Linked DNA regions of Homo sapiens: regions 2, 3, 4, 5, 6 and 7 are each linked to region 1. The links are contacts of gene promoters, found by promoter capture Hi-C in blood cells and fetal thymus (Javierre and others, 2016). All regions are on one chromosome and are shown on one strand. Each heading gives the region's core, a stretch centred on a gene start or on the middle of the fragment in contact. The rest is flanking DNA. Distances are from core to core; before and after follow the strand shown. Region 1 holds the start of ARPC2 (actin related protein 2/3 complex subunit 2). Region 2 overlaps TTLL4 (tubulin tyrosine ligase like 4). Region 3 overlaps STK36 (serine/threonine kinase 36). Region 4 overlaps RNF25 (ring finger protein 25). Region 5 overlaps ZNF142 (zinc finger protein 142). Region 6 overlaps CNOT9 (CCR4-NOT transcription complex subunit 9). Region 7 overlaps USP37 (ubiquitin specific peptidase 37).

The links. The method cuts DNA at HindIII sites, captures the fragments that hold promoters and counts their contacts. A CHiCAGO score of 5 or more calls a contact.
Region 2: a contact is called between a fragment that was not itself captured here and the fragment with the promoter of ARPC2 in region 1, in 3 of 17 cell types (naive B cells, fetal thymus and total CD4 T cells). The highest score is 6.9, in naive B cells.
Region 3: a contact is called between a fragment that was not itself captured here and the fragment with the promoter of ARPC2 in region 1, in 6 of 17 cell types (fetal thymus, total B cells, non-activated CD4 T cells and 3 more). The highest score is 8.6, in fetal thymus.
Region 4: a fragment that was not itself captured here is called in contact with the fragment with the promoter of ARPC2 in region 1 in 10 of 17 cell types (non-activated CD4 T cells, fetal thymus, total CD4 T cells and 7 more); the score reaches 10.0 in non-activated CD4 T cells.
Region 5: a fragment that was not itself captured here is called in contact with the fragment with the promoter of ARPC2 in region 1 in 10 of 17 cell types (total B cells, fetal thymus, non-activated CD4 T cells and 7 more); the score reaches 12.6 in total B cells.
Region 6: a fragment that was not itself captured here is called in contact with the fragment with the promoter of ARPC2 in region 1 in 1 of 17 cell types (non-activated CD4 T cells); the score reaches 5.1 in non-activated CD4 T cells.
Region 7: a fragment that was not itself captured here is called in contact with the fragment with the promoter of ARPC2 in region 1 in 1 of 17 cell types (neutrophils); the score reaches 5.1 in neutrophils.

The regions. Positions count from the first base shown.
Region 1 is chr2:218,215,469-218,218,598 of GRCh38, forward strand. It overlaps ARPC2 (actin related protein 2/3 complex subunit 2), which reads left to right and starts at 1,721. Exons shown (of 11, transcript NM_152862.3): 1 at 1,721-1,786; 2 at 1,995-2,076. The coding sequence starts at 2,003. It overlaps LOC101928487 (a long non-coding RNA gene), which reads right to left and starts at 1,718. Exons shown (of 2, transcript XR_923908.2): 1 at 1,560-1,718; 2 at 633-1,383. RefSeq lists an enhancer at 1,730-2,333 and a silencer at 1,855-1,904. The HindIII fragment of the contact is 6,430 bases long and covers 506-3,130 here.
Region 2 is chr2:218,717,778-218,720,907 of GRCh38, forward strand. All of the region lies in intron 1 of TTLL4 (tubulin tyrosine ligase like 4), which reads left to right. Among named protein-coding and RNA genes, the nearest start is that of TTLL4, 8.5 kb to the left of the region's middle. RefSeq lists a silencer at 1,789-2,086. The HindIII fragment of the contact is 161 bases long and covers 1,513-1,673 here.
Region 3 is chr2:218,700,951-218,704,080 of GRCh38, forward strand. STK36 (serine/threonine kinase 36) reads left to right here. Exons shown (of 27, transcript NM_015690.5): 27 at 916-1,765. The coding sequence ends at 1,059. Among named protein-coding and RNA genes, the nearest start is that of TTLL4, 8.3 kb to the right of the region's middle. The HindIII fragment of the contact is 889 bases long and covers 1,216-2,104 here.
Region 4 is chr2:218,667,963-218,671,092 of GRCh38, forward strand. It overlaps RNF25 (ring finger protein 25), which reads right to left. Exons shown (of 10, transcript NM_022453.3): 2 at 643-717; 3 at 277-379; 4 at 117-184; 5 at 1-19. Among named protein-coding and RNA genes, the nearest start is that of RNF25, 2.5 kb to the right of the region's middle. The HindIII fragment of the contact is 499 bases long and covers 1,341-1,839 here.
Region 5 is chr2:218,650,145-218,653,274 of GRCh38, forward strand. ZNF142 (zinc finger protein 142) reads right to left here. Exons shown (of 11, transcript NM_001379659.1): 5 at 1,557-2,156; 6 at 215-382. Among named protein-coding and RNA genes, the nearest start is that of ZNF142, 7.9 kb to the right of the region's middle. The HindIII fragment of the contact is 7,287 bases long and covers 1-3,130 here.
Region 6 is chr2:218,588,992-218,592,121 of GRCh38, forward strand. The region is part of intron 5 of CNOT9 (CCR4-NOT transcription complex subunit 9); the gene reads left to right. It also overlaps the pseudogene RNU6-136P. Among named protein-coding and RNA genes, the nearest start is that of PLCD4, 17 kb to the right of the region's middle. The HindIII fragment of the contact is 1,538 bases long and covers 827-2,364 here.
Region 7 is chr2:218,527,545-218,530,674 of GRCh38, forward strand. USP37 (ubiquitin specific peptidase 37) reads right to left here. Exons shown (of 26, transcript NM_020935.3): 10 at 2,412-2,496. Among named protein-coding and RNA genes, the nearest start is that of USP37, 39 kb to the right of the region's middle. The HindIII fragment of the contact is 9,507 bases long and covers 1-3,130 here.

The DNA.
Region 1 (3,130 bases), core at 471-2,970:
AATTAGCCCAGCTTGGTGGTGCATGTCTATAGTCCCAGCTATTTGGCAGGCCGAGGCAGGAGGATCACCTGAGCTCGGGAGGCGGGCAGTGAGCAGAGATAGCAACGTCACTCCAGCTTGGGTGACAAGAGTGAGACACCATCTCAAATTAAAAAAAAAAAAAAAAAAAGGCCGGGCATGGTGGCTCACGCCTGTAATCCCAGCACTTTGGGAGGTCGAGGCAGGAGGATCATGATGTCAGGAGTTCGAGACCAGCCTGACCAACATAGTGAAACCCCGTCTCTACTAAAAATACAAAACATTAAAAGGGCATGGTGGCAGGCACCTTTAATCCCAGCTATTTGGGAGGCTGAGGCAGGAGAATCGCTTGAACCGGGGAGGCAGAGGTTGCAGTGAGCCGAGATCATGCCATTGCACTCCAGCCTGGGCAAGAGTGCAAGACTCTGTCTCAAAAAAAAAAAAATTTAAGTTAGCGTATAATTTTAGGGGATCAGCAATATCCTGAAGCTTATCCATAGCCCGTTAAGTAATGTTTCAAAGGGCTATCTGTGCCTTAATGATAGGAGCTAGTTTCTTGTTCATTTTTTTATCCCCATCCCCAAACACATAGCAGAAAATAAATTATTTCCTTGTATGTAGAACGGACTCAGCTAAGTTTATTATATTCTCCCCGGAGGAGGGAAAACACAAAACAAGGCACAAAGGCAGAAGGTGCAGATGTAGCACAACGATGAGTTAAGATTCCGCACGCAGGTAACAAGGAGGGTATGGTATATCTCTGCCAGAGGTACTGGAAGGTTTCAAAGGCAGAAAAAAATGTGTTCCGGACACCTGGACGCAGAATTGGAGGCATGACAGGAACACAGGGAGGCCCATCTAAGTTGCCTATTCACCCAGGTGACCTCTCTTTCATTTCTTTAATTGTCCTTTTAACAATATGGGGAATTTCACCCAAGGAAAGGGTCCTCTTCTCGCCCCAGCAGGCAAGGGGTGTTCCTCCAGCGCAAGTTCCGGCCCCAGCTGCCCCCACGTCCCACAGGTCTCCTGCCTTTTGGCACGCACACTCCTGACCACTCGCTGCTTCCGCATCCCTACTCTGATCCTCTCCCCATGCATCTCTGCCTCCTTAGACAACTGAGAATTTTATTGTCTGTTTCCTTTGCCAGACTGTAAGTTCCACGAGGGCAGGGCCTCGTCCATTTCATTTACCACTACATCCCCAGTATAGAGCAAGAGCCCATGAAAATGTTTGTTGGAGAAATGAATGCATGATGGTGTCGCTGGACAGCTATACCTGGAAAGAAAAAGAGGCACCCCCATCAAACAAGCTGGGAGCTAAGAAGCCCGCTGGGAGACGACAAGGGCGAGCTTCTTGCGAGGTTTCTGAAATGACAAGACCGGAAGAATGGAGTTGGATCTCTGGGACAAGCGGGAGAGAGAAGCTGAACAGTCAGGCAAGCCTCGGGGAATGACAGCTCCGCGGGGGACGCACTGGTAGGCGGTAGACGTAAGCGGGGTCGGTGGGAAAGTAGACGGTGGGGCGGCGGCATCACACATACGCAAGCGCAGCCTCCGTTTCCTCCGGCGCGCCTGCGCTCGCGTTCACGAGTGGTTGAAGCGGAAATGGCGCCGCGGGGCCGCGCGTCCAGGCGGCGAGCGGAAGTGGGTGTGAGAGCGGAAGTGGCCGGCTAGAGCCGGGGGCTGGGCGGGGACCGGGCTTGTCGGTGAAGCGGCAGTGGCGGCGGCGGCGGCGGCTCGGCAGGCGGGTTCAGGCTTCGGGGGCCAGGTCGGTTGGGTGGGTGGGTGTCTCCACAGTCTGCGTGCGTGGGCCAGCGCGTTCGTCTTACCCTTCCCTCCACCCCGGCCCCTCTCCCCTTCTCCCCTAACCTCCTACCCCACCCAGCCCCACTCAGGGGGCAGCAGGGCCGCTCCCTCCGTCCTTGCCTCCCTTACCCACCCTCACCGGCCCTTGTTTCTCCTTCCCCTGGGGGCAGCCGCCGCCATGATCCTGCTGGAGGTGAACAACCGCATCATCGAGGAGACGCTCGCGCTCAAGTTCGAGAACGCGGCCGCCGGGTGAGCGCGCGCCCGGGGCCGGGGGTGGCGGGGGAAGCAGAGTTGACCCCAGCTAATCCCCAATGTTGTCCAGTCCCCCAGACCTGGAGGAGAGAAATGGGGTGCCTGGCAGGGTGTAGGGGCTGCCCCAGCGGGGTAGACGTGGGAGGCGATTGGGCGCGGCCGGGCGAGGGGCAGAGATGCGTGGGGAGAGGCTCAGAGGAGGGATGCGGAAGCAGCGAGTGGTGAGGGCTGTGCGTGCCAAAGGGCAGGAGACCTGTGGGACGTGGGGGACCCTGGAGCCGGAACTCGCTCCGGAGTAGCCCCCTGCCCTCTGGGGCGAGAAGGGGACCCCTTCCCTGCGTGAAATTCCCCGGCATTGTTCTGAACCCAGAGAGAGCCTGTTTGGAATTGGGTTGGAAGGAGTTTTCAGGAATTCCCAGGACTGGAGGAGGGAAGGAGATGCAGGCCCACATCGCCACCAGCATTCTCGTTCCCCACCCCCATCTCCTTTAAAAGGAGCAGAAGAGAAGACTAAAAGCCGACCCAGTCTTAGAGCCGGAAAAACGCGATCTCTGGTTTCCCTTCCCCGAACCCTTCTGTGAGAGACACTGGGCCATTTTGTTACATATTTTTAAAGCAAAGCCAATTGTCCCTCGCTCCACACCCCTTCCTTATCTCTCCTTTGAGGTTCTAATGCTCTCTCCTCACCCACTAGCCTTTATCTGGTTATCTTGTAAATTCTTACATCAAGACCCTAGGTCTGTGATTTCTTCTGTGGTAGCCCTGGCCCAGTTACACACTTCAAAGACTCCAGAATCTATAAAGTTCTTAGATAACCTGTCTTTACGATTGGACTTTTTAAAAGATGGGCTTAGGGCATCTTTCCAAGGCAGCCTCTCTGCCAAACACAAGAATCAGTAGAAGACAATCTGCTCCTCCAAAGCTGCTTTGCTTTTCTAGTATAATATTTAAAACATGAGCTAAGGATTTTGGGTTCTAATTTTTGGTGGCCTGTGGCCAGTCCCTTTGCCTCATTTCCCTATGTATGAGCATGGGGCTTCACATCTGGGTT
Region 2 (3,130 bases), core at 343-2,842, 500 kb after region 1:
AGGCAAGTCAGTTCTATCTTCTTCTTTTTTTTTTTTTTGGAGACAGAGTCTTGCTCTGTCACCCAGGCTGGAGTGCAGTGGCACAGTCTCGGCTCACTGCAAGCTCCGCCTCCCGGGTTCAGGCCATTCTCCTGCCTCAGCCTCCCAAGTAGCTGGGACTGCAGGCGTCTGCCACCACGCCTTTTGTATTTTTAGTAGAGATGGGGTTTCACCGTGTTAACCAGGATGGTTTTGATCTCCTGACCTCGTGATCCACCTGCCTCAGCCTCCCAAAGTGTTGGGATTACAGGCGTGAGCCTGTCAGTTCTATCTTCTAACATAACTGTTGAGCAGTTGAGGTAATCTCATCAGAGATCTTGTGGACTGTAGACTGAACCATTTCTGATGTCCTGAGTTTCCCTGGTGACCGAGGGAAACACCTAGTTGAAGGAGGAAAGGGAAACTGCATTTCCCAAGAGCCACACTCTCTTGTAGGAGAGTGATTTAATTAGTGGGTAATGAATAATTGCTTTCTCTAGAAATAGATACCTTGTCCAAGTTGGTCTGGGCCTGGTCCCTGGAGACTTGTTGGTTTGCGACAGCAGCAATAGATTTTCTTTTCTTTTTTTTTTTTCTTTTGAGACGCAGTTTCACTCTTGTTGCCCAGGCTGGAGTGCAATGGCGCAATCTCGGCTCACCGCAACCTCTGCCTCCCAGGTTCAAGCGATTCTCCTGCCTCCACCTCCCAAGTAGCTGGGATTACAGGCATGCACCACCATGCCTGGCTAGTTTTGTATTTTTAGTAGAAATGGGGTTTCTCCATGTTGCTCAGGCTGGTTTCGAACTCTCGACCTCAGGTGATCTGCCCACCTCGGCCTCCCAAAGTACTGGGATTTCAGGCATGAACCACTGCGCCCGGCCAGCAATAGATTTTCTAACATAGGCTACTAATCATTCACACTCCTTTAAGGAGGAAACTTGAGGCAAAATCACCCCATAAAGATTGGAGGACAGAACTGTATAGGCAGTTTCCAAATGCTGCATGAAGATGACAAAGTAGGATGTTCAGATTCCTGAGAATGGGTGTTTTAAAGGGGAGAGTCTGGAGCCAGGGACATCAGTCAGGCTGCTTACCTTAACAGTCCTGCACTTGGTGTTAGAGGGGTTGGAGACTGGGCTGAGGCAGCCATGCAAATAGAAGGGGATGTTTCAGGCCATTTTGTTGATCCATACAACTTTCTGCAGTTTTTTATTCTTCACTCTTACCCCTTTATTCAAGTTTTATTTTTATTTTTAACAGTTTTGTGGAGGTATAATTCACATTGAACATATCCATCGTTTCTAAGTCAATTTTTTAAAAACTTTTGTTCTAGGAAGACTTAGTGTTCCATAAAGTTGTTGGGGGAGGAGACTTGGGCAATATTGCTAATAGGAGGCCAAACTGGACCAGGGTTCTTCCCACCCCCTTCTGCCAGCGTGGCTCTGTATTTGAGGTTAAAGATCCCCAGAGATTTCCTATAAAAGCCATCATGAAGCTTATAGGGCATATCACTAGGGTAAGTGAACAGTGGTGTGAGATAGCCTTGGGAAAGTATCACGTGAGAGGGACACACAACAGGTGCTCGTGGAGAGGGTGGGTCTTGAGCTGGGTCTGGAAAAGGTAAATAAAATATGGTAAGGATTCACAAGGAAGAAGCTTAGTGGAGTAAAGCCCTGCAGACAGGCATTTGAAAGGTTTATTCCAGGAATTTAGTGTAAGACCAGCGCAGTTCACATAACAGAGTTCAAGGTAGGAGGAAATGGAAATAAGCCTTAAAAAAAAAAAAAAAAAGATTAAGGGTCGACTATGGAGTCTTGTGGACCAAAGCTAAGAAATCTCACATGACAGTCATCTGGAATGCTTGTTAAAACTGCAGACTCATGGCCCTACTCCACACCAACTGAATCCTCTTGAAGGTGAATCTCAGGACTTTGCATCTCAGGTTATTCTGATGCAGGTGGGCCACCACAGTGTTTAGTAAGTGCTCATGGACCGTTTTTGAAAAGGGATTGACCTGATGAAGCAATACAGCAAAATTAATCTGGAGGTTGCCTGCAGGGTGGAATTAGGAAGGGCACACCTTGGAGACACATGCTTCAGTCAGTGCTGTTGCAGTAAGTCCAGATCTAGGGGCATGGTGGAAATAATAAAAGGAGGAAGAATGCTAAGTAGACAGAGTGTCTTAAATTTCATGACTGGTTTCCCTTTGGGGAAATAAAGTAAAGGAAAAAGTCAGAAATAACTTAGTTTTCCTCTTAGGTGATTTGGAGAAAGAAGGGTCCACTCAAGGAAATGGGACGATCAGGAGTGGAGAGCTAGTTTGACACACTAGATTGAAGTGGTTGGACATGCATTTGGAAAGGTGGAACAGGCAGTTGGTGATGCAGACATGAAACTTGAGACGACAAATCTGCAAAATGACTCTTCTGCAGATAATAGTTGACATTGTGAGAGAGATTGATTTGATGTGGGGGAGGATGAAAGAACTGGAGGATTTTGGATTGGCCTCAGGAGGAGGAAAGACACTATTGAAGGGGTTGGGTACAGCTGTGGCAGAGTGCACGCACTGAGTAAAAAATAGCAACAAGGAGATGGTGGTAAGAGGGGAACGCCTTTTTCATATGAATAGGTCCAACTCGTGGCTTTGCTGATGTGATATTGTGATATAATAAGAAATACTCCAGCCTGGTCAGCATGGTGAAACCCTGTCTCTACAAAAATACAAAAATTATCCGGGCACGATGGCGGGTGCCTGTAATCCCGGCTATTCGGGAGGCTGAGGCGGGAGAATTGCATGAACGCGGGAGGCAGAGGTTGCAGCGAGCCGAGATCGTACCATTGCACTCCAGCCTGGGCAACACAGTGAGACTCCGGTCTCAAAAAAAAAAAAAAAAAGAAAGAAATACATAATTGGGGTGTGCCCCTGGTTCCTGGCTCCTAAAACCTTCAGAACTTGTAAGTGATAAGTGTCTTTTTATATGCTAATGAGATGATTGATAGCTGGGGACTCCTGAATAGCCTCAAGATGGGAGGCTGATTGCCGAGAGAACCAACCATGTGATTAGAGGGTTGGAACTTTCAGTTCCATCCCCCACCTTCTGGGAAGGGGAG
Region 3 (3,130 bases), core at 410-2,909, 490 kb after region 1:
GCAGTGAGCGGAGATCATGCCTCTGCATTCCAGCCTGGGTGACATAGCGAGACTCTGTCTCAAAAAAAAAAAAAAGCCCATTGGAAATCACAGATATCTACATATGGTAATATAAATTATGACATCTCAAAGTGGTAGCATTGGGAAGTTCATGCAGAGCAGAAATTTGAGAGGATGGTGAAGATCTTTTTTTTTTTTTTGAGACGGAGTCTCACTTTGTCGCCCCCAGGCTGGAGTGCAGTGGCGCGATCTTGGCTCACTGCAAGCTCTGCCTCCCGGGTTCACGCCATTCTGCCTCAGCCTCCCGAGTAGCTGGGACTACAGGCACCTGCCGCCACACCCAGCTAATTTTTTGTATTTTTTTTTTTTTTAGTAGAGACGGGGTTTCACCGTGATAGCCAGGATGGTCTCGATGTCCTGACCTCGTGACCCGCCCGCCTTGGCCTCCCAAAGTACGGGATTACAGGCATGAGCCACCTTGCCTGGCCGATGGTGAAGATCCTATAGGAATCTTGTGCAATCCATGGGGAAAATAATTAATGGGATTCTTGGTGGTAATGAGGTTAGAACTCACTGGTCTGCATTGAAGGCTAGGAATTAGACCTTTTGGCTTACTGTGAGTTACTGCTGCATTCATCAAGTCTTCCTGGGGACAAGTATATGTGTCCCTTAGTGCCTTGGTTTCATGGTCTATAACCAAAGAGAATGGAAGTAGACTTCTGGTCCTGATGATTCCTATCTCCAAGGTTTCTCTTCTGCCATTCAGTCTATTCCAAGTCCCCAAGAGCCCATTTCCTTTTTCTTCCTCTTCTCGAGTGGGAATTCCTGGGTAAATGAGAGTCCTCCGCACCTGCCCCAGACACCACCATTTCTGAGCCTCATGTTCTGTTCTATCATCTGTTCTCTATCCTACAGGTACTGGTGTCCCTGGGTGCCAGTGAGAAACTATCCTTGCTCTCTCTGGGGAATCAGTCACTGCCACACAGCAGTCCTAGGCCTGCCTCTGCCAAACACTGCAGGAAACTCATTCACCTCCTGAGGCCAGCCCATAGCATGTGATTCCAGATTCCTGCGGTCCAGCCTCCAACTTTGGTTGCCAGCTCTTTCTTATTCTACTACACAAGCCGCCAACTCAACTGAGAGCTAAAGAGACTAGAAAAGAGATAAGCTGCCAACTCAACTGAGAACAAGAAACTAGAAGAGATTTATATATAAAGCTTCTTCCTTCTCCCAGATGCAGGATGTTTTCAACCAGTAAATTTTATTGCTGTTGGTGCCAGAGAAGAGTCCTTTCTTCTCTACATCCAGGGGCCTTTTCTCCAATAATGTGCCTTTAACTCTAGGGACCTGCCTCACGGACCTTAGGGAAAAACCTCAACCTGAAAGATCTCTTCCTTTCTGGAGCTCCTTTAATCTTCCCAGCAGGTTTTTGCCTTAGACGTGCTGGCCCCAGGACAGTGATGAAGACAGAGCCTGTCTCAGCTCTAGGCTGTGGGGATCAATGCCATCAGTCCCTGTTATTGAGGGATTATCCCTTAGCCAACATTCCTATCTGTGGGTGGGCGTGGAGAGTGTATCTTTTTTTGGGGTGTGTGTGTATATGTGTGTGTGTATGTGTGTGTGTGTTTAATAGTTCTGTTTGTAAACTCTTTTAATAAAAGTTGTGCCTCACCATACTTGAAGCTCCCAGGACAAGGGTTGAGAGGCTCAACCCCTCTTTCAGCTTCTATGTGGTGTTGGAGGTGCTGGTATCGTGTTCACACAAGATCCTGGTCTGGCAGCTTATTTATATCATTTCTTGCCTTTACCAATTTCCCCCTTCCTAGATGAACTATATTTGGTTACCTACTTTCAAGTCAAGGCCGGTGGAGCTGAAATAGGAAAGGGTAAGATTCAACAGAGCGGTCAATTAGGTTGCTCAGACTTAGTGACTAATTTTAATATTTAGTGGAGTTCTAATGTGTAGGGACTCCAAGCTGCTGTAGAAGGATAGCTATTTTAAAGATTGTACAATTTACCAGAAAGGGCTTTTAGTCAGACCTGTTAGAATTATAATCTAACTGGAAGCATTGGAAAACCTTAACTCATTGGATGGCTTAGAACAAGCTTCCAGGGCCTTGATTTCTCCATCCATAAAATGAGGAGACTCCTTTCTGTCCTTCCTTAAATTCCAGTTGTTTTAGAAATGAAAGACAAGTAAAGTGCCCTTATTTTTATAAGAAATTTTGTTTAACCCTCATCTTCATTGTCCACAGTGTTTATACTTTAGCAAAAATAATATTTTTCTAGGGAGCACCATAATTTTCTTCTATCCAGATTATCTCAATTCAGTTCAATGTATATTTTTTGAGTCCTTTCTGTATGCCAGATACTATTCTAGGTACAGGAGATAAAACAGTGCCCATCATAGAGTTTCCATTCTGGTCGGGGAGATAGTGAAATTATTAAAAGAATAGTATGTAGGAAGGTGGTAAAAGCTATGGAGAAAAAGAAACCAGGGAAAGGAGATGAGGAGTGCTGAGTCGGATGGTCAGGGTAGGCCTCACTAGAAGGTGACACTTGAGAAAAGACTCGAAGGAGGCGAGGGAGTGAGTTGTGCACCTATTTTGGGGAAAAGCCAAGGCCCTGAGATGAAAGCATGCCTGGCATGCTTGAGGAGCTATGAGGAACCAGTATGGATTAAGTGAGTAAAGAAGGTGGAGAATAGTAGGAAATGAGACAGGAAGGTAATGGTGGGGGCCAGATATTGTAGGCTTTGTAGACCTTGGTGAAGACTTGGGCTCTTACTTTGAATGAAGGAGGCATCTATTGCAGGCTTTTGAACAGAGAATTTTATGAACTACCTTGCATCCTAAACGGATCATTCTTCATTCTGGTCTTGTGAATGGCTATGGGGAGTAGGGGAGAATGCGAAGTAGGATAAGCAGTTAGGAGGCTATTGTTATAATAATCCAGGCAAGAGACAATGGTGTCCTGGATGGCGACTGGGGTGATACCTATGGAGTGATAAAAAAGTAGTCAAATTTTGAATATATTTTGAACATGGAACAAACAGGATTTCTTGACTGATTGGAGGTGAGGGTATGACCAAAAGAAAGCAGTCAGGGATGACTCCAAGGTTTTTGGTCTG
Region 4 (3,130 bases), core at 340-2,839, 450 kb after region 1:
GCCCAGCACCTGTAAGATCCTGGAGGAAGAGGGCAAACCAAATATTAGACCTGCCCATTTCTGTCACCGGGCAAAGCTGTAGCTGAGTTTTCCCTGTTCTGACAGGTTCAACTTACGTGTGGATCTGTTCATCTGAAAGTCCTCGGGGATTTCGGATAGAGATCTGTGGCACCTCATGGGGATACTAGTGGGGGCAAATAACAAGTTACTGCTGAAGCGGTCCACCCCAGGGACTCTCCCCTTCCTCCCTTTGCTGCCACACAGTAGGGGCTTCACCTCTGCTGGGACCTGAAGCACCAGAGTGAAGCAGACATACTGTGAATCCTGGTCCTCTGCAGTGGCAGGATGCAAAGTGATGTAGATCTCCCATGGTGAAGTTCTGCAGGTGGATCAAGTGGACACGCAGATGTGACTGGGTAGGGGCTTGGGGGCTGGGGAGGATGGGGCTGAGACAGTGAAGTGGGCAAAGGAAGTACACATTGGACTCTTTCTTTTGGGGTAGGATTAAAGGAATAGCTTTTGTCTACACAAGAGAAATATTATCTCTGAATCAAGGCTCACAATGTCTTAAGACCCAAATTCAGCATAGAACCTCTCCTCATTACTAGGGGGACTCCTGCCCACCACTGGTTGAATACATACCTGCCATTTCCTTTAATCACCTGTAGTTCATCTAGATAGATGGACTCCAATACTTCAACTTCAGAGGGAAGGACCCTAGAGAGACAGGAGTAGACTAACTTACCATTACAGCTCTCCCTGTGGAAGCCTGCTAAGGCCAATAAAGGCAGGCTTTGTAGAAAAATGGCAATCTACCAGAATGCATTCTCCTGCTAAACTCCTTAAAAACAAGGAATATGTTACCTTAAGTTGTCAACTGGCCAAATAGAAGGCATGGAAATCAGAATTTTAGGCATCATTTCTGCCAACAGATGAAGAAGTGGATTCTAGAGAAGTAAAATGACTAACCAAGGCTTAACATAGGTAGAACTAGGCCCAGAGCCAGGTTTCCTGACTCCCTGTTTAAGTTTCATTCCCCTTAGTGGCTGAATCTCTGGTCTAGAGATATGGCACTCATTCATTAGCATTAACGTTACCAATATTACTCCAACCTTTCCCTACGTCACTGTCCAGTGTGGATCCCAGTGCCTTGGCTACTGTCTACATACAGTTTTAACACCAGTCACCCTAAGCCTTCTTAAAGGAGATAGCAACCTCAACACAACATATTTAGGGTGGTATAAAGGCTGTGTTGTAATGGAAGAGCCAGCAGCCTCGGAGTTAGTTAACAGGTACCAATCACTTACAAGCTATGCAATCTGGGACGTGACCTCTCTGTAAGCTTAAGTTATCCTGTCTGTCACATATAGATAATAACACCTACTCTCTAGGGTTATTGTGAGGATAAAAGGTGATTTGTTTACATAAAGTACCTAATAGTATCTGGGCTATCGTAGCTAGTCTACGTCCTCTTTTTTTCCTGTCTGTATATAACCTTCTCCCTTAGAAGGAAAGAGGGAAGGAAGGAGGTAATAGAGTACTCTGGATGTATTTATGACCTGGCTGTCTGGTTGATCTAGATCAGCCTGTTGAGGTTAGGATCCATGGTTCTGATGTAAATCAAGGGACACACATACTTAAGCATAGAAACAGCAGTTGTAATGAAATTGAAGCTGAGTGATCAGTTTGTGTCTACAGCTCTACCAAGTGATACATGGAAAAATGCACACTTTGCTTTCTCACACTGCTCCCTCTTCATTCTAAGAGTAAGGCTGCCCCAGCACGACCTATGTCAGTGTTGTTAAGTCTTAGGCAGAAACTTCAAAATATAAAATATAAAGCTTCACACCTCACAGATAACAGTGTAGTTCTGGCTGACATGGGAGTGGGAGTCTCACAGTACTACAGGCTGCTGCACTCATTGTTGCTGTCTCCATGGCTCAAGGTGTCTCCCCTGAATCTTAAAAGTTCCCCTGAACAGGTAAACTGTAAGTTATCCCAGCGCTTTGGGAGGCTGAGGTGGGAGGATCACTTGAGGCCAGGAGTTCGAGACCAGCCTGGGCAACAAAGCGAGACACTATCTCTACAAAAAATAAAAAATTAACTGGACACGGTGGTCCCAGCTACTTGGGAGACTGAGGCAGAAGAATCACGGGAGCCCAGGAGGTCGAGGCTGTAGTGAGCCATGATCTTGCCACTGTACTCCAGCCTGGGTGACAAAGTAAGACTCTGTCTCTTAAAAAAAAAAAAAAAAAAGAAGTTTCCCTGAACACTTTGAAAACCAGTAGTCTAGATACTCTTAATAACGGCCAGTACTAGCTGGGCTCCCTGAACCAATGTAACATTGAGGTGTAGCCTCAGTCAAGTGGCCCTTCAATACTTCGCCCACCCTAGTTATATGGGTCCTGGATGGGATGGTGGTAAGGTGGTGACAACAAAATGGGGGAGGGGGGCCGGGCGCGGTGGCTCAGGCCTGTAATCCCAGCACTTTGGGAGGCTGAGGCGGGTGGATCATGAAGTCAGGAGATAGAGACCATCCTGGCTAACAGGGTGAAACCCCGTCTCTACTAAAAATCACAAAAAATTAGCTGGGTGTGGTGGCGGGCGCCTGTAGTCCCAGCTACTCGGGAGGCTGAGGCAGGAGAATGGCATGAACCCGGGAGGCGGAGCTTGCAGTGAACCGAGATTGCGCCACTGCACTCCAGCCTGGGCGACAGAGCAAGACTCCGTCTCAAAAAAAAAAAAAAAAAAAAAAAAAATTGGGGGAGTGGGGACTGAAGAATGTCCTAGTACAAAGAATCTAAGGTGTGGAGTCAGACAGATATGGATTTCTATTCATAATTTTCTATCTTTTGGCAAATCACTTTACTTCTTTGGGACTCATCTAGTCTTCCCAGGTGCCTGCACCTCAGTTATTAATGAAAAGGAGGCCGGGTGTGGTGGCTCACGCCTGTAATTCCAGCACCTTGGGAGGCTGAGGTGGGAGGATCACTTGAACCCAGGGGTTCAAGACCAGTCTGGCCAACATGGCAAAACTCCGTCTCTACAAAAAATACAAAAATTAGCCAGGCATGGTGGCACACACCTGTAGTCTCAGCTACTCGGAAGGCTGAGGCAGAAGGATCACCTG
Region 5 (3,130 bases), core at 344-2,843, 430 kb after region 1:
CAAACTCGATTTACCCCAATGCTATATTACTAAAGTCTTTACCATTCACTCATTTATCATTTTCCCACTAGACCTTGACTTTTGAGTCAAGGTAGAACAGAATAAAAGGATCCGAACCAAAGCTCAGAAAACAAACCCCAGAGCCTCAATGGCAGGGTTTCAACAATCCATTCTTCCCCACCACCAAGGGCTTCAAGCCTCAGAATGTCATTACCTTCCAGCCGCTGAGCCCCTTGGCCTTTATCCACAGCCTTTTGGGAGTCCTTCTGGGTGTCACTCTTCTCTTCTTTCTCTACATTCTCCTCTTCAGCTGTCTCCTGCCCAGGCAAGGGTGTACCTGCTTCCTGTGAAGGTTCTCTCTCTCCTGGAGGCAGTTTGGGAGCTGGAGATACATAAAACTTGATAAAGTCTACAGGAGCCAATAACAGCACTAAATGCTTATACTTCTCTACCTACTGGCTGAAATAATCACCCTCTCCCACTTTTAGCATAAGGAGATCTTGGGTTTTATGTATAAATGTATTTCCACTCAAGATGAAAATAGGAGGACGAAGAGCTAAGTTATTAGCAATGTTCCAGTCTAAAGTAACTCAAACCTCAGAGAGCACCACTTTCAGACTCCATGAAGCTGACAGCAGCGAGGTCATTGAGGTCATAGGGGGCTGAAAGTAGAGAATGGGTAGACTGCAATTCCTTCTCTTATCAGAATTCTGGCCTCTCCTGGCCCGTTTTCTCTGTTTCCTCCTGCTCCTCTGCTCTCTCATGCTTTTTTGGGACCAAGAAGAATGACAACTACTAAAACGCCGTCTCCCTTGAAAGTTCCTAAGTTCCTTTCTTTACTTCTTTTTTTTTTTTTTTTTGAGACAGGGTCTTACTCTGTCATCCAGACTGAAGTGCAGTGCTGCAATCTTGGCTCACTGCAACCTCCACCTCCTGAGCTCAAGTGATCCCCCACCTCAACCTCCCGAGTAACTGGGACTACAGACATGTACCACCACACCCAATTTTTGTATTTTTTGTAGAGACAGCATTTCACCACATTGCCCAGGCTGGTCTTGAACTCCTGGGCTCAAGGGATCCATCCACCTTGGCCTCTCAAATTGTTGGGATCACAGGCATGTGCCACAGTGCCCAGCCCAAAGGGTTATTTCCTTTTTAAAATAACCCTGGCTTCTACTGCCCAATCCCCAGTTGCTCTAAAGGAAAGTCTACAGGCATTCTATCAGTGGCCATAGCCAATGATGGTCATTTTCACTTTAGCTCTCAGAAAGTTGTGAAATGGATCATTAGAGAATATTGGTTAAGTAACTTCAGGCCACACGTAGCCTAAGCCAACTTTCACTCATTGTCACAAACAAAGACTTCCTCTTTGTCCCATATATTCCAACTGTTTCAAGATGCCTTCCCATGTCATCCAGTAACTCCATCCTCCTGAGCCACTGTCTAGATTCTCTTATATTCATGTACATTCATGGCCTTGGAAACAACTGCCTCTCCTATAAGATCAACTGTGGCTGAACTCCAGGAGAGGAACTGCTTGGCCCTTGGCCTCATACCTGGCAGCAGCTCCTGGGATGGAAGGCCCTGAACGGCAGAAAGTTCTCCCTGTGTCCCAGCACCATGGCTCCGCTGATGCTGCCGGAAGAGTTTGACGTTGGAGCCTATGAAGCTGCAGTGGCTGCAGTGGAAAGGGTAATGCGCCTGCCGGTGCAGCTCCATGCCCTGCTGGCTCCCGAAAAGCAGGGGGCAGCCCCGGAAAGAACAGGGCACAGGAACTGCTCTGTGAGTCTGCCTCAGGTGGTGCTGCAGACCCTTGCGATCTTCAGCAGAGAACACACAGCCAGATTCTGGGCAGGAGAAGGTGTCAGGAGTGCCCCGGTGAATCTTGAAGTGGCTCTTCAGGGCCTGGGGTTGGGCAAACTCCTGTCTACACACAGGGCATGATAGGGGGCTAACTGGCGGGCTCTGGCCCTGCAGAGGGCCAGGGAGGGTTGGGTTGCTGGGAGGCAGCTCTACAGAGCATGGGGGGCTAGAGAGGCCCTGCACAGGCTGTATATGGGTCTCACTGCACTGGTGCAGGGCCAGCAGAGTGGGCTCTGCGAAGCTCTGTTCACAGCGCTCACAGAAGTACACCTCCACCACCTTTACCAGGACACCTGCAGGCAGAGGACCGACAGAGAAAGGCATAGAATCAGATGGAACAAGACTCATAGGAGTTAGTTACTAGTAGAAAATGTAGGTGAATCTTTTAATATTCGTAGAGTACAGATGGACTTTAAGTCTGGTCCTACACCTGGACTGTAGGCCCCATAAGGTCAGGGACCATCTATCTGGCACGTGTGTTTGGATTCCTAGCACAATACTTGGCACAAGATAGGTGCTTAATAAATATTTGTTAAATGAGTGAACAAGCAAGCAAATCCAGAAAGCATTAAGACAGTATATTTTGCCCAAGTGAAAACCAGAAACTTCCAAAAGAAAATGACAAACTAGGGATAATATCTGCAATATAAATGGTTAAGAGCTTTACTTTCAAATTCTGTAAAGAGCTTTACAAAGGCACAGGAATGGATAAAATGGAGAATATCCTTCTGAAAATAATTATTATTCTCCATAATAATTGCTGCCGTTTTAAAAGCAATGGGCAAGACTTTGATAAAGAAAGGCTTAATAAACGCTCTCATTTGGTCCTCCAACAGCCCTATGACAACAAGGTCCTGAGATTCTACGAGATTAAGACTACTATGTTTATTAGTGGTAGAGCCATGACTCAAGGCCAGGTTTGTCCTACATTTATTCTGCTGGTCTGTTTGCTCTTTATTGTTTTTTTTGTTGTTAAAAAAAAAAATTTCAGGGCCAGGTGCAGTGGCTCACGCCTGTAATCTTGGCACTTTGGGAGGCTGAGACAGGAGGATCATGAGGTCAGGAGATCGAGACCATCCTGGCTAACATGGTGAAAACCCGTCTCTACTAAAAATACAAAAAATTAGCCAGGCGTGGTGGCACGCACCTGTAGTCCCAGCTACTCAGGAGGCTGAGGCAGGAGAATCGCTTGAACATGAGAGGTGGAGGTTGCAGTGAGCCGAGATTGCCCACTGCACTCCAGCCTGGCCAAGAGAGAGACTCTGTC
Region 6 (3,130 bases), core at 346-2,845, 370 kb after region 1:
TCATATTTTTTTCTCTAATCACTTTCAATTTTTAAATTTCATATTATTTGATTTTTTTCAAGGTTACTTTTCCATACTGCTGACAATTTTGGGTAGTATTCAACCTCTGCTCTAAAATTTGCCTTGTCACATTAAATTACTTTTTTAGTCTAACAAATATTTTATTCTTGAGTTGGGTGTAAGCAGGTATAATGATTTTTTTGGCTTTTTACTTTTAAATATATATATATGGAATGCTTCATGAATTTGTGTATTATCTTCGCACAGGGGCCACACTAATCTTCTCTGTGTTGTTCCAATTTTAGTACATGTGCTGTCTAAGTGAGCACTGGTTTTTTAATTTTTAATTAAATTATTTATTTATTTAGAGACAGGATCTCTGTCTGTCACCCAGGCTGGAGTAGAGAGGCATGGCTCACTGCCGCCTCGACCTCCTAGGTTCAGTTGATCCTCCCACCTCAGCTTCACAAGTAGCTGGGACCACATGCCTGCTCCACCACACTCAGCTAATTATTTTTATTTTTTGTAAAGACAAGGTCTCCCTATGTTGCCTGGGCTACTCTTGAACTCCTGGGCTCAAAGGATCTTCCTGCCTTCTGCCGTAGTACTAGGAGTACAAGCATGAGCCACTGTGCCTGACCAATTTATTGTTTTTAAAGAGACAAGGTTTCACTATGTTGCCCAGGCTGGAATGCAGTGGCTATTCACAGCCATGATAATGGCACACTATAGCCTTGAACTCCGGGGCTCAAGCAGTCTTCCCACTTCCCTCTCTGGAGTAGGTAGCTTTGATACTGGCACACATCCCTATACCTGGCTATTTTTAAGCTTTTTATTTTAAATATTCAATATATGGATGACTGTCAAAGGCATTGTTGAGCAAAAGAAGCCAGACACATGGGAATTCATACTGTATGTTGATTATGTGAAGTTTAAGAACAAGCAAAGCCAATTACTGGCAATAAGTTGGATTCGTGGTTAGCTCTGAGGAAAGAACATTGACTGGGGAAAGGTACAAGGGAATGCTGGAATCCTGAGTTGGTAGAAATATTGCTTTTTTCTGTTTTTTTTTTTGTTGTTGTTGTTTTTTGTTTTTGAGACAGTCTCACTCTGTCACCCAGGCTGGAGTGAAGTGGAGTGATCTCGGCTCATTGCAACCTCTGCCTCCTGGGTTCAAGCAATTCTCATGCCTCAGCCTCCTGAGTAGTTGGAACTACAGGCACACACCATCATACCCAGCTAATTTTTTGTATTTTTAGTAGAGATGGAGTTTCGCCATGTAGCCCATGCTAGTCTTGAACTCCTAAGCTCAGGCAATCTGCCTGCCTCCACCTCCCAAATATTCTGTATTTTATACAATATTTTGTATTTTAATCTGGTTATAGTACATAATGTGTACATAGGTAAAAATTCAAGGTACACTTAAGATTAGTGCACTTAACACACTTCACTGTGTGTAAGTTTATATTAGGTTCCTATATAACCTGCTGCTATAACAAATTACCACAAGCTAGAAGGGTAGTGGCTTAAAACAATGGAAGTTTACTGTTTTATAGTTTTGGAAGTCACAAGTTCTAAATGAGTTTCACCAATCTAAAGTCAATGTATCAGGAGGGTCATGCTTTCTCTGGAGGATATAGAGGAGAGTCTTTTTGTTGCCTTTTCTAGCTTCTAGAACTGCATTTCTTGCATTCCCTGGATTATGGCCCCCTCCCTCTTCAGATCCAGCGATGTGGCATGTTCAAATCTCTTTCTGCTTGTCACATTGCTTTCTCCTTTGTGGTAAAATCTCTCCCTACATCTCTCTTGTTGTTGTTGTTGTTGTTGTTGTTTTGTTTGTTTGTTTGTTTTAAGAGATGGGGTTTTCTCTGTCGCCCAGGCTGGAGTGCAGTGGCATGATCATAACTCACTGCATCCTTGAACTCCTGGCCTCAAGCAGTCCTCCCACCTTGGCCTCCCAGAGTGCTGAGATTACCAGCATGGGTCACTTTGCCTGGCCTTCTCTACATCGCTTTTAAGGACACTTCGTTATTACATTTAAGGCCTACTTGGATAAACAGGGATAATCCCCCATCTCAAGATCCTTAACTTAATCACGTCTGCAAAGTCCCATTTTTCATTTAAGGTAACATTTGCAGAGTTTGGTGATTAGGGCCTGGATATCTTTGAGAGCCATTATTCAGCCTACTACAGTGTTATAACCCCAATAAAATAGTAAAATAATTCCACAGTTCATTTTGATGAGCAGCCAAGAAAGAGTATCATTATCGTGATTGTCTAATTTAAATTAAACTAATATTTTAATATCTCTTTTATGTAAGAGCTAATGAGCTCAAGTTGAGGGAAAAATTGAGGCCACATATAAGCTTCACAGCCAGGATATGTTTTATTACTGTTAGATAATCTTCAAAGAGAAGCGTGAAAATCTTATTTCTTCAAGATCTTTTAAGAACAAAAAAGGCCTTATCTCAGCCGAGTGCAGTGGCTCACGCTTGTAATCCCAGCACTTTGGTAGGCCAAGGCAGGTGGATCACGAGGTCAGGGAATTCAAGCCCAGCCTAGCCAAGACGGTGAAACCCCGTCTCTACTAAAAATACCAAAATTAGCCAGGCATGGTGGCAGGAGCCTGTAATCCTAGCTACTCGGGAGGCTGAGGCAGGAGAATCAGTTGAACCAGGGTGGCAGAGGTTGCAGTGAGCTGAAATGGAGCCACTGCACTCCAGTCTGGGCGACAGAGTGAGACTCCATCTAAAAAAAAAAAAAGAAAAGAAAAAAGAAAGAAAGGCCTTACTTCATCTGGAAGAGAGGAGGCATAGCTGAATAAATCATCTTGGCCTATGGAAAAGAGAAGAGCCTTAGATATTCAAATGAGGCTTGGATCTCAGCTGTGCCATAGTAACTTTGTCACTTGGGACCTTAACCTGGTGCATTATTGATTAACAGTTATACCGGGCACATAGTAGGTACTCTGTAAATGAGAAGGTCTCTGAGTTTTTAAGAATTTGATAATTACACGGAACCTACCCTTGTATGTAAAGTGAGAATAATAATGGTACCTACCTCATTGATTTATTATAAAAATAAGATAAGCATGTAAAGCCTCTAGAAAAAAAAACTGGTACAAAGTAAT
Region 7 (3,130 bases), core at 415-2,914, 310 kb after region 1:
GAAATTTTCACCTTATCTCTCAGTGCAGCTTTGCACTAAAAAGATTTCTTTCCTCAATCATTCCTATATGGAATGAATATGTCCATTCTATTATTTTGAGAAGAATTTTGTATGTAGGAAATCATTTGCAAACCAAATGTAGGCTTTTTTAAAACTTAGATTTAAGATTCTTCTAATAAGCAGAAATATGTCAAACTTCCTCTCTCCTAAATTCAAATAACTTAATTACCACTGTAATCTATAAAGTGCTTGAGATACCACCCAAGGCTGAATATACCTAAATATATAATATCAAATTCTTTACCTTAATCATTTTATACAAATAACCAAGATGTTTTTAACACTTTGAATTAAATTCTATTAAGAACCAAATATGGGCTGGGCGCGGTCACTCACACCTGTAATCCCAGTACTTTGGGAGGTCAAGGCAGGCACATCATGAGGTCAGGAAATCGAGACCATCCTGGCTAACACAGTGAAACCCCGTCTCCACTAAAAATACAAAAAAAGAGCTGGGCATGTTGGTGGGCGCCTGTAATACCAGCTACTTGGGAGGCTGAGGCAGGCTAATCACTCGAACCCAGAAGGCAGAGGTTGCAGTCAGCCGAGATTGCCCTACTGTCCTCCAGCCTGGGCGATACAGCGAGACTCCATCTCAAACAAACAAACAAACATATGACTTAATAGGTCATTATATAGCATGTATATTATAGACTACCATTACCCTCACTTTTTTTTTTTAATTATATTTTAAGTTCTGGGATACATGTGTACAATGTGCAGGTTTGTTACATAGGTATACACATGCCATCATGGTTTGCTGCACCCATCAACCCATCATCTACATTAGGTATTTCTCTTAATGCTATCCCTCCCCTAGCCCCCCACCCCACGACAGACCCCGGTGAGTGATGTTCCCCTCCCTGTGTCCATGTGTTCTCATTGTTCAACATCCACTTATGAGTAAGAATATGTGGTGTTTGGTTTTATGTTCCTGTGTCAGTTTGCTGAGAATGATGGTTTTCAGCTTCATCCATGTCTCTGCAAAGGACATGAACTCATCCATTTTTATGGCTGCATAGTATTCCATGGTATATATATGCCACATTTTCTTTATCCTGTCTATCATTGATGGGCATTTGCCATTACCCTCACTTTTTACATTTAAAACCATCAACCCTTCTGTGCTGCACTGCATGATCACATGTTCTCAACAAGTGCTTAGCAGGTATCTTATGTATTTATACCCAATAAATCTGAAAAAAAAAAAAAAAAAAAAAAAAAAAAAAAAAAAAAAGAGCTTATCTATAGAATTGGCAATTAAATATCCAACTAGCCTTTTCCAATTTATTAATAAAAGACATTCACTGCTGTAATACAGCTTTTGATTTTTAAGGGAAATTCCTAAATATTTAAAATGTAGCTTAACAAATACAACAGCAACAAAAGGAAAATAAAAATGCTTCAGAGGAGAGATCTTAGTATGTTCATCCACATGGGATGGTAGAATATATATTGGTCTACAGTCTGATAATATTGTCTGTCGCAATCTATGGCATCACTACAAAACTTCCCAGAGCCAGGTTTAAGAGCACCTCCCAACTCAGCCTCCTAAGTAGCTATCACTACAGGCACACGGCACCATGCCCAGCTAATTTTTAAAAAATTTTCTGTAGAGTGGTCGGATGCGATGGCTCACGCCTATAATCCCAACACTTTGGGAGGCCAAGAAAGGCAGATCACTTGAGGTCAGGAGTTTGAGATCAGCCTGGTCAATATGCTAAAATCCTGTCTCTACAAAAATTAGCGTGGTGTGCTGACAGGCACCTGTAATCCCAGCTATGTGGGAGGCTGAGGCAAGGCTGCAGTGAGCCAAGATAGCACCACTGTACTCTATCCAGCCTGGGTGACAGGGCGAGACTTGGTCTCAAACAAAAAAAAAAAAAAAAAAAATTCTGTAGAGGCCAGGAGCAGGAGCAGTGGTTCAACACTTATAACCCTAGCACTTTGGAAGGCTGAGGTGGGAGGATCGTTTCAAGTCAGGAAATTTGAGACCAGGCTGGGCAACACAGTGAGATCTTGTCTCTTTTTTTTTGAGACAGGGTCTCGTTCTGTTGCTCAAGCTGGAGTACAGTGGCATAATTATGGCTCATTGCAGCCTTGATCTCCAAGGCTCAAGTGATCCTTCCACCTCAGCCTCTCAAAGTGCTGGGATTACAGGTGTGAGCCACTGTGCTCAGCTCATTTCTAGAATACTTTCTAACTAACATGTCAGGATTCTATGAGTCTCGTCAATTTTGTTAAATTATCATATTCACTTAAGAGGATAATACATAACCTATCCAATCATTCAATATTCTGAAAAAAAAAGAACTCCTAAGTTTTTCACAAGTAATATAACCAATGCATACCTGTCTAAGTTAGTGCCACCAGAAGAGTGTTCCTTGGATCCAGCTCTGCTACCATAAAAGGATGATGACTGTAAAGGTAAAAGCCCTATAAAACAAATGAACAAAGGAAAAACTTAATTCCTAAATCAACCATTCAAGTTCATTTAATAATAAAAGTATACATTAGTCCTGATTATATTTAACTCTTTTTCCTTCTCATCAAATACAGGAATACCTCATTTTATTGCTCTTTGCTTTATTGTGCCTCACAGATATTGCAGGTTTTTTTGTATGTTTTTTTTTAAACAAATGGAAGGCTGTGGCAACCCTGCACCAAGCAAGTCTATCAGTGCCATTTTCCCAACAGTATACGCTCGCTCACTTCATGTCTATGTCACATTTTGGTAATTCTTGCAATGTTTCAAACTTTTTAATTATATCTATTACAGTGATCTGCGATCAGTGATCTTTGATGTTACTGTTGTCACTGTTTTGGGGTACCACGAACTGCACCCATATAAGACGGCAAACTCAATTTATCTGACTGCTCCACCAAATTGTCATTATTACCCCATCTCTGTCTCTCTTCTTGGGCCTCCCTATTCCCTGAGACAATATATTGAAATTAGGATAATTAATAACCCTACAATGACCTCTGTGTTTTTAAGTGAAAAGAAGAGATGCACATCTCCTTTTAAATAAAAATCTAGCAATAATTAAGCCCAGTCAGGGAGGCACGT